Regions from separate parts of the Homo sapiens genome. Here region 2 is linked to region 1. The links are contacts of gene promoters, found by promoter capture Hi-C in blood cells and fetal thymus (Javierre and others, 2016). All regions are on one chromosome and are shown on one strand. Each heading gives the region's core, a stretch centred on a gene start or on the middle of the fragment in contact. The rest is flanking DNA. Distances are from core to core; before and after follow the strand shown.

Region 1 (4,619 bases), core at 1,261-3,760:
TGGCCAGGCTATTCTCAAACTTTGGCCTCAAGCAATCCACCCACCTCAGCTTCCCAAAGTACTGGGGTTACAGGTGTGAGCCATTACACCCAGCCCAAACTATTTAACAACAGATACAACAGAGGCACTAAGCAGAATGAAAAGCAGTTGTGAACAGGGAGCATCAGCCTGCTTCCACGGCCAGGCTGCTAGTGTAAACAGGCAAAATTGAGACTAAGAAAAAAAAAATATCTTGACTAATTTTTTTTATTACATTTGATAGAAGGGTGAGTTCAGAGAAATAGTCCATGCTGATAAGAGGACCGACACTGCTTCAGTGCCAGACAGCCAAGTGGAGTGGAGGCCAGTGGGAAATTGGAGAGCCCGTGCTCTCCCAAGAAGGCGAGACTGCTTCTCAGACCCAGATCATCGTTGCCAGATGGGATATGGCTCAGAGCTCCCAGAACTTCACTTTTTTTTTTTTTAAAAGAAAAAGTGAGAAATTTTAATTTTTAAGAATTCCTGGATTTTAAGACTGCAACTCAAGACAAACAAACAAAACCCACCAAAACCCAACAGACAAACATAAGACTGCAGGACAACTCAAACAGGAAATTCAGCGAATGCTGGCCAGCTTGTGACTTCTGCTTTCTGCTGTGTACTTTATATTTAACCTCATTCCTTCCTCTACTTTACATCTCGTTCTTTTCTGTCTGCTTTCTCTCCTACTTAATTTATAATATCTTACTCTACTTTGTGTTATCTTCATATGTCACCTTAAATCCTACCTAGGACCCAGGAGAGTATAAATAAACTGACCACAGGACATCTCCACTTAGGTAACACATCAGAGTCTCAGATTCCAAACCACAGCAAACTGATTTTGGCATTTTCCAATCCCCTGCTCCCTTCTTCCTCTACCCCAGAGGGGATCCCCTTTTTTTGCTGCTCCAGTCAACAGCAATACCCTCATTCACCCAACTGCATGGCCAGAAACCTGAGTATGATGCTATTCCTGGCCCCTCTCTCTCTCTCATGCAATCAGTTGCCAGGTTGTATCTCCTCACTCTCTGTTCCTTCCTCCTCAACCCTAGCGCCATAGTTCAGGCCCTTGTCACTTCTGGCCTGAATTACTGCATGAGATCCCAACTCACCTCCTGCACCTACTTTGCTCTTCTTCAAAATTAGCCTCCCCTGCCTGCTGGGAGGCACACCTGAGCTCCTCACTTAACCTCCTGGACAGGCCCTGCCATCCCCTGGCTAAATCTAAACTCCCCGCAGTGTGCCCACCCATCCCCTCTGCACCATCTGTGCCGCACACGTGGCACTGCCACTGTGCTGCCCATTCCTCTGCTCAGGTGCCAGTCCTCCAGGGAAGCCTCCGATGCCCCTCAGCTCCTGGGAGCACTCCGCCTCTGGGTGCCCCTGTATCACCTCATGCTTTCCTCTAGACCTGCACCGGCACTGGGTTGAAGGAAAATAATAGTAGCCAACGTTAATTAGCACATACTCTGGGCCAAGCACCCTTCTAGGCAGTTTAAATGTATTCCTTTATGTCATCCTCAAAAATCCCATGAGGAGGCTGGGGAGCGGTGGCTCATGCCTGTAATCGCAGCACTTTGGGAAGCCAAGTGGGAGGTGGAGGTTGCAGTGAGCTGAGATCACACCACTGCACTCCAGCCTGGGTGACAGAGTGAAACTCCATCTCAGAAAAAAACAAAAAACAAAAAAAACTTTATTTCTCTGTCTAACCCAAATTTTGTGTCCTCTCACCAACTTCTCCCCAGCCCCTCCATCCCTCTTCCCTCTCTTCTTCTGTAGGCTGAGAGCAGCCATTCCAGGGCTGATTGTCCAGGCATGCCCAGCACTGGCCAGTGTGAAGAGGAGGAGCATAGACCACTGCTGTGACTTCCTGGGAGTGGGCTTACACTGGCATCTGTGCAGGCTTCAGGAAAAAGAAGCGAAATCACGGCGTGGATCTAAGGGGCCAAGCCTCACCTTGAAGGTTCTTCTGGGTCTTTGGCCTGGACAAGAACATGAAACTTGAATTTCTCAAGGTGAGGTGAAGGCCAAGCAGGAAGCCAGGATGGTCACCAGGAAAGGAGCCAGAATGAACTAAGTGTTCTTTAGGGCAAGGAACTTACCAGAACCTCTACGCTCCGAGCTATGATCAGGCTGCTCTCTCCCTCTCTCTCTCTCTCTCTCTCTCCCCCACCCCCCCGACCCCTTTGTGGCCAAGGTAAGGCCACATTTTAGAGTGGAAGCCCCAAGGCAACCCCCCACCTCACAACCTCCACTCTTGTTGCCCTCTCTAATCCAACGCCTGCCAGGCTCACACTTCAACCACTAGACTGAAAAGCAAGAATCTTCCACAAAAATAATCTTTTACCTTAGACCTGCTTCCTGTGCAGATGAGATAAGGAGAATGCTCTTGTCTGAATTTCTGGGCGTGGAGATTAGCAAGCCGTTTTCCTCCCAGCAGCTAGAGCGAGCAAGAGGCCCTGCTGTGAGTAGTGCTGTTCTGAGTCTGCGTGGTCCAGACTCACCACACTGCAGGCACGTTTCTTCATCAGGTGGGAAAGCAGGAAGAGGTTTAATTTAGGACCTAAAGCTGGTATATTGCTGAGTAAAAGAAATGGGAAGGCACCAAGTCTCTAACGAAATTGCGCTGGGTGCAGTGGCTCATGCCTCTAATCCCAGCACTTTGAGAGGCTGAGGTGGGTGGATCACTTGCGGTCAGGAGTTTGAGACCAGCCTGGTCAACGTGGCGAAACCCCATCTCTACTAAAAATATAAAAATTAGCCAGGCATGGTGGCGGGCGCCTGTAATTCCAGCTACTCGTGAGGCTGAAGCAGGAGAACGCTTGAACCTGAGAGGCAGAGGTTGTAGTGAGCTGAGCTCGCCGCTGCCCTCCAGACTAGGTGACAGAGCCAGATTCCGTCTCAAAAAAACAAAAAAAAAAGAAAAAGAAACTGCTTGTGATCCAACACTCCCCCACTGGTGCCTCCTCATGGTGAAGAGCAATTACTCTGGCACCAGAGTCTTGGGGTTCAAATCCTTACTTCACCAGTATGTGACTGGAAAAGCTACCTAACCTGCCTGCTGAAGCTTCATGGCTAATAATTCCTCACAGCATTTCTTTTTTTCTTTTTTTTTTTTGAGACAGAGTCTTGCTCTGTCACCCAGGCTGGAGTGCAGTGGCATCATCTCAGCTCACTGCAACCTCCACCTCCCTGGTTCAAGCTTCTGCCTCAGCCTCCCAAGTAGCTGAGATTACAAGCGCCCACCACTAAGCCTGGCTAATTTTTGTATTTTCAGTAGAGATGGGGTTTCACCATGTTGGTGAGGCTGGTCTTGAATTCCTGACCTCAAGTGATCCGCCCACCTTGGCCTCCCAATGTGCTGGGATTATAGGCGTGAGACACTGCGCCTGGCCCAGGAGGAATAAGTTTAAGAGCTCCCATTGTACAGCATGCTATCTATAGTTAATAACAATATATCGTGTATCGAAAATTGCTAAGACAGTAGATGTTAAGTGTCTTTATCACCCCCAAAAAATGACAAGTATATGGGGCAATTAAGTCAAATAGCTTGACTTAATAATTCCACAATGTATACATAAATTAAAACATCAAGCTGTATTTGTATACCATAATATATACAATTTTTACTTGTCAATTAAATAAATAAATACACAGAAAAGGGCAGAGACAGGTCAAGAAGCACAGCACTCAGTACAGAAATACAGATAACAATATATTGAAAGAAAGAATTCAAAGATAAATTTTTTTTTTTTTTTTTTGGAGACAGAGTCTTGCTCCATTGCCTAGGGTAGAGTACAGAGACACAATCACAGCTCTCTGCAACCTCAACCTCCCAGGCTCAAGTGATCCTCCCACTTCAGCCTCCCAAATAGCTAGGACTGCAGGGTATGCCACCACAACCTGGCTAATACTTGTATTTTTTTGTAGAGATGGGGTTTCACCATGTTGCTTGCCCAGTCTAGTCTTGAACTCCTGGGCTCAAGTGATCCTCCCAGCCTGGCTTCCCAGAGTGCTGGGATTACAGGCACCAGCCACCGCACCCGGCCAAAGATATGTTCTGAAGATTGAAACGTCTCTCTTTCCAAAATAACTACTCTTGGCCAGGTATGGTGGTGTGCGCCTGTAATCCCAGCTACTCGGGAGGCTGAGGCAGGAGAATTGTTTGAATCCGGGAGGCAGAGGTTGCAGTGAGCCAAGATTGTTCCACTGCACTCCAGCCTGGGCAAGAGTGAGACTCCGTCTCAAAAAACAAACAAAACCCAAAAACCTCTTGACTGGGTGCTGTGCCTCAAGCCTGTAATCCCAGCACTTTGGGAGGCAGAGGTGGGAGGATCACTTGAGCCCAAGAGTTCAACACAGCCTGGGCAACATAGGGAGACACCATCTCTACAAATTTTTTTTTAAAAATTAGCTGGGCATGGTGGTGCACACCTGTGGTTCCAGCTACTCAGGAGGCTGGGGTTGAGAGTATCACTTCAGCCCAGGAGTTTGAGGCTGCAGTGAGCTGTGATTGCAACCACTACTCTCCAGCCTAGGTGACAGAGCCAGACCCTGTCTCTATAAAAGCATTAATTAATTAATTAATTAATTACTAG
Region 2 (4,815 bases), core at 1,910-4,409, 360 kb before region 1:
TGAATTATTGCTAGAAAAGAGAGAGAGAGAGATCAAGCACACATTTTTGCACTCTGGGGAATACCAGAGGCCAAGTAGATAATGAGGATACACTTCATAATTGATGTAAAATGGCCAGGGGGAGGGGGTGGAAACTATTACAACCTTCCACCACTGTAAACAGGACCAAATGGTAAAGATTTTATTTTTCCACCTGTGTGCTTTGGAAAGGGGTGGGGCACCACCACGTGCCTAGCAACTATCTCAAACTCTTACGGCAAAAAAAGAATGCTTAGTCTACAAAAAAATGAATGTAAAGTTTTTATAAAATTATCTCAGCAACAAAAGGGCACAGAACATGTGAACTTTACGATTGAGAAAAGACAATACAACACCGAGTCACAGGCCTAAAAGGATACTATTAAATATATTAGGGCAGTTCTGTGATAATAATTCTGTAAGATTTGCATAAATAACTCTGGTCTCAAATTTCACTTCAAATATATACTTTCTGAGATCCACACAATGCAAAGTAGTGTTAAGTCAATGAACCAGGGGTTTCATTTCCAACATTCCCAGTAATGGGTTAGAGTGAATTAAGCTCTTATTTGGGAATCTTCTTGATAAAGCAAAATGAGTTAAACTCCTACCCAGGTCAAGCCTTTTAATACTTAAGCCAAGTAGCAATGAGATTAATACAAGTTTATACAAGCTGCTAATAATTGGGGCTCATTGTCCCTTCAGTTTTTACTTCATTTGGTCTCTAAGCAGCCTCTTGAGGGAAGTATTAAAAATGTACAGAATGGGTTCATTCAGTATTCTTTCTTCTACTGAACAAACATGGAGTAGCTAGAGTTGCCAAGTACTAAACTGAGATTATAGATATTCTAGAAAACAAAAATTCACAATTTCTCTGGAGCAACCAAAAAAAGTATCACAAAGTTCATGAGCTGTCACAATTTTGAACTACTGCTTCAGGTCTTCAACCGTCAGGCAAAAGGATGGTCTTTACTGATAATATCCCAACTTAATATTTTCACCAAATTTAACATTTTCATCCCTGAAAATTGCTCCTAAAGCTAACTTTGTGTGAACAGGGAGGGGGAGAGAGAGAGAGCTTGACAAAAGCAAAGTATAGCGTTCAGCACATGCCTCTGTAACGAATGGGCAACTGGTAGGTTTGTACTGTCATAAATCCTAGACTCTAGTCTTCAGACATGCTATGCTAAGATCACACTGTTAACATTCAATAGTTAGGAGAGAAAGCTTACTCCTGGCACATAGTAGGTGCTCAATAAACGATGTTTTTACTATAATGGTGATTATGATTACTGCCAGAGAAACACTGCAACCACAAGCAAACATCAGTCAAGCTTCATGTTAAACAATCAGATGCTGTTAAAAAAAAAATAGGTTCATTAAAAAACTTTTGGACTTCCAGATTGAAGCCAAAACATGTTATCCTTCTCCTCACTCCTCCACTGTGGGCTGCCTTCATCCAATGAAGACCAAGTTTTTAACTATTAAAAATACAAATGTGTCTTTGACAAATAATCCATGGAATGGTTCTTGGTAACCTATTGACCAGGTAAAGGCTGTGATTCTATCTGACATTAGGAGTATTTTTTTCTCTCTGTACAATAGGATATGCCATTGTTATCTTGTTTGCTGAAAGGAAAAAAGACCCAGTGCCCAGATTTACACAATGAAAAGCCTCTTGGATTTAACGGTACTTTGAGAACATACGGGAGGACACTATTTAAATAATTATTTTTCTTCTGTCTTTAAGAAATAAATATTTAGCGACTGCTTTAACCATCTAAACAATTTTTTCCACTTCCTCAAAATCCCACTCTCTGGGAAGATCAGTTGTATGTGCAGAATCATCCTCAGACAGCTGTACTGCACTGGAAACCACGTCCCCTCACGGTGGCTCTGCTGACACTCCGAACTCATGGCCCGGTTCTCTCAATTCTGTCTAGGATGCAGCCAACCCAGAGAAACGTTACAGTGACAAACAACAGGTTCCACTCTGCTCCGTTCCCACATCTCTTAAAACACGAACACTCATTCATTCACAAATCCCTACGCTCGGTTCCTGTGCTGAGACTCCAGCCTGGCTGGTAATCCCAGGTAAAAATCGGAATATGGGGCACTATCTATCCTGGTGCTGCAACTGCACCAGTCACCTACAAGGCACGCAAATCCAGCTCAGTGCTCAGATTTCATTCAACAGGACTGGCCACCGAATGCTCTCAATGGTCCCCACCCCTCTTCCTGCATAAACCAAGCCACAGCCTTCCTGCCCTCAAGGAGGAACAGGCCAGCCCACCTGCTTCCTTCTGCGCTCCCTTCCCCGCCCAGTCCCCCAGGACCAGCTAAGGACGCTTCCAGGACCCCTCCAGGGGCCTTTTTCTGACCACATTTCCTGGGCTCCCATCATCTCCACAAATGAAAAGTAAACTCCTCCTTAGTGACAACCTCTCCAAACCAACCGCCTCACGGTCACCCAACTCCGCCGGAGCCCCCTACCCGTGCGAGCCCCGCCGACGGGGCGGACGGCCCCCACGGCGTGTGCCAGCGCGGGGCATTTACCTTCACGCTGGTGTAGCAGGTCTGAGTCTCGGCCTCGGCGCTGCTGCAGCAGTGGCGCCTCCGGCCCCTGCTGGTGGTCGCGGCGGGGGCTGCGGAACCCGCGCTGCTACCGCTGCCCAGCTCGGTGCGGGCCCTGCGGACGCGGGCTACGCTGGGGGGTCCCGACGCGCGGCTCGGGGGGATGGCGTCGGCGGCGTCGGTCTGGACGAAGAGGCCGGGCAGGGGTGCCGCCGGGCCCTGCGACACGCTGGTGGTCTGGCGGGGCGAGCTGGACTCGTCCGAGTCCCGGCAGTAGATCACGCCGCTCTGCGAGACATGGATGCTGGGGGCGCAGCCCATCCCTCGGCCGGGCTCCCCCGCGCGCCCGCCCGCGCCCGCGGCCGCCGGGACCCAGCGCACCCGCTGCCACCTGCAGTGAGGGGGCGGCCGCGGCGGCGCCCGGACTGCGCGCCCCCCGGCCTGTGTGTCCGCCGCTCCGTCGGGCTGGCCGCGGTGCCCCCCGCCGAGCCTCCGGGGACCGCGCGCGTCACCCCAACTTTCCCTTTTGGGCCATCTTCCTCCCCGAGCGGGGGAGCGCGCATACACAGCGCCCCGCGCGCACCAGCGGCCGCCACCCTCCCCGCCGCGGCGCCCCAAACACGCTCCCCGCGCCTCCGCCTTCCCCTCCTCCCTCGGCGCGGCCCCCGCCGCCGCCCAGCTCGACCTCGCCGGGCTCCCGCACCCGCGGCCCTGGGCCAGGGCGCCCGCCCGCCTGCCCGCCTGCCTGCACCTTCTTTCCCCACTTTCGGTCTGCGCCCGTCCCCTCCCTCCCTCGCTCCCACCCTCCTTCCTCCTCAGGTGCCCCGGCTCCGCGGCCGCAGCCGCCCGGGCCCCACTGCGCCCCTCCGCCCCTCCCGCCGCTCCCGGAGCTCTCCCGACAGGGCAGAGCGTGCCCGCGGCTCGGCTCCGCCGCGGGGCCCCTGTGCGCGGCAGCTGGCACCGCGCCTCGGCGCCCTCCCCTCCTCCTCCGCTGTCCAGAGGCCTCGTCTCTTCTGCACTCATCCCGACGCCGCCCCCAGCGCCCCAGCCCCTCTTCCCCTGAAGGGCTGTGTAAGCCTCTCGCTTTTCACCAACACATTTTCACACATCCCAGAGCTAAACACCAGGAGGCCCCTCCCGAAATGGCAGGGGCCCTACAGCCCAGGCCCACCCACCGCATTTGCTTGCCTCTCAACACACCCGGGAAGTGATGGAGAGACCTCATGGTTCCGTCCTCTTCCCCCAGCCCCACCGCCTACTCCGAAGGCTGAGTTGGATGGTGACCCAGTCTTCAGAAGAAGCCCATTCCATGTCTACTCATCGTTTGGAAGTTTGTGCCAAGGGATGGGAGGCCCTGCGGAGGAAGGCACCCTTGAACACATACGTTCCCCTAAGATCCAAGGCAAGAACAGAAAGAAGCTGTCTGATGGTTCTTGGCTTTCTCCCCCATTTTCACCTCTTCCTTAGGTGTCACTAAATGTTCATGCTGGTTTCTATCCCGTCCAGCCGCCCATGTCAACTGCTGTTCCTCACACTCTGGGCTGGGCAGTCAACAAGGCCTTCCCTCATTCTCCTTGGTGAGGCATGCACAGACTGAGCTGTGCTGGAGGAGAGGAAGAATGCCTTTAGAAGGATGGCTGCTGTTCATCCTTCCCTTGTAAACTCTGAGTTACAGCTGCGAGACACCACTGCCCATTCAGTCACTGGTTCCCGCAGTAATTCCTGCCCGATTTTCACAATGGCACGGGGAGATAAATTAGATGGTCTAAGAAAGGATTTTATCTAGAGTTGCTTATACGGACAAGGGCAGTAACATAGAGGCTTAATGCAAGGCACAAAGAAGTATCCAATTTTAAGGTTTGTTTTTTGTTTTTTTTTCATTCTTATTTTCCTTTTTCTTCCTGGACCACTCTTGGATGTGACTGGATGAAGACTTCAAAAGACAGTTTCTAAATTTCATAGAGAAGCAAGATATCATTCCCAATCCCAAATTCAGTTATACAGGGAGAGTCTAACCTTATTCTTCTACCTTTGCTTCTCTTCTCAGTTTAGCTCTCTTTTTTTGATACAAAAAAACTCCATCTCCAGCTAACCTGGAAAAAGTCTATGCTGTATTTTTTAATGGACAGGCAAATTGCTCATAAAATTTCTGCACAGGTTGGGTCCTCCTAGAAGCAGATTCTGAGATGGTGTTTAGCAGGCAGAGGGAGGCTTTTTAGGAAG

What was found. The method cuts DNA at HindIII sites, captures the fragments that hold promoters and counts their contacts. A CHiCAGO score of 5 or more calls a contact.
Region 2: the fragment with the promoter of PDE8B here is called in contact with the fragment with the promoter of S100Z in region 1 in 5 of 17 cell types (fetal thymus, erythroblasts, monocytes and 2 more); the score reaches 9.2 in fetal thymus.

Annotation. Positions count from the first base shown.
Region 1 is chr5:76,847,905-76,852,523 of GRCh38, reverse strand. S100Z (S100 calcium binding protein Z) reads right to left here and starts at 2,510. Exons shown (of 5, transcript NM_130772.4): 1 at 2,369-2,510. The HindIII fragment of the contact is 3,987 bases long and covers 1-3,090 here.
Region 2 is chr5:77,209,024-77,213,838 of GRCh38, reverse strand. PDE8B (phosphodiesterase 8B) reads right to left here and starts at 3,159. Exons shown (of 22, transcript NM_003719.5): 1 at 2,575-3,159. The coding sequence starts at 2,913. The HindIII fragment of the contact is 3,521 bases long and covers 1,355-4,815 here.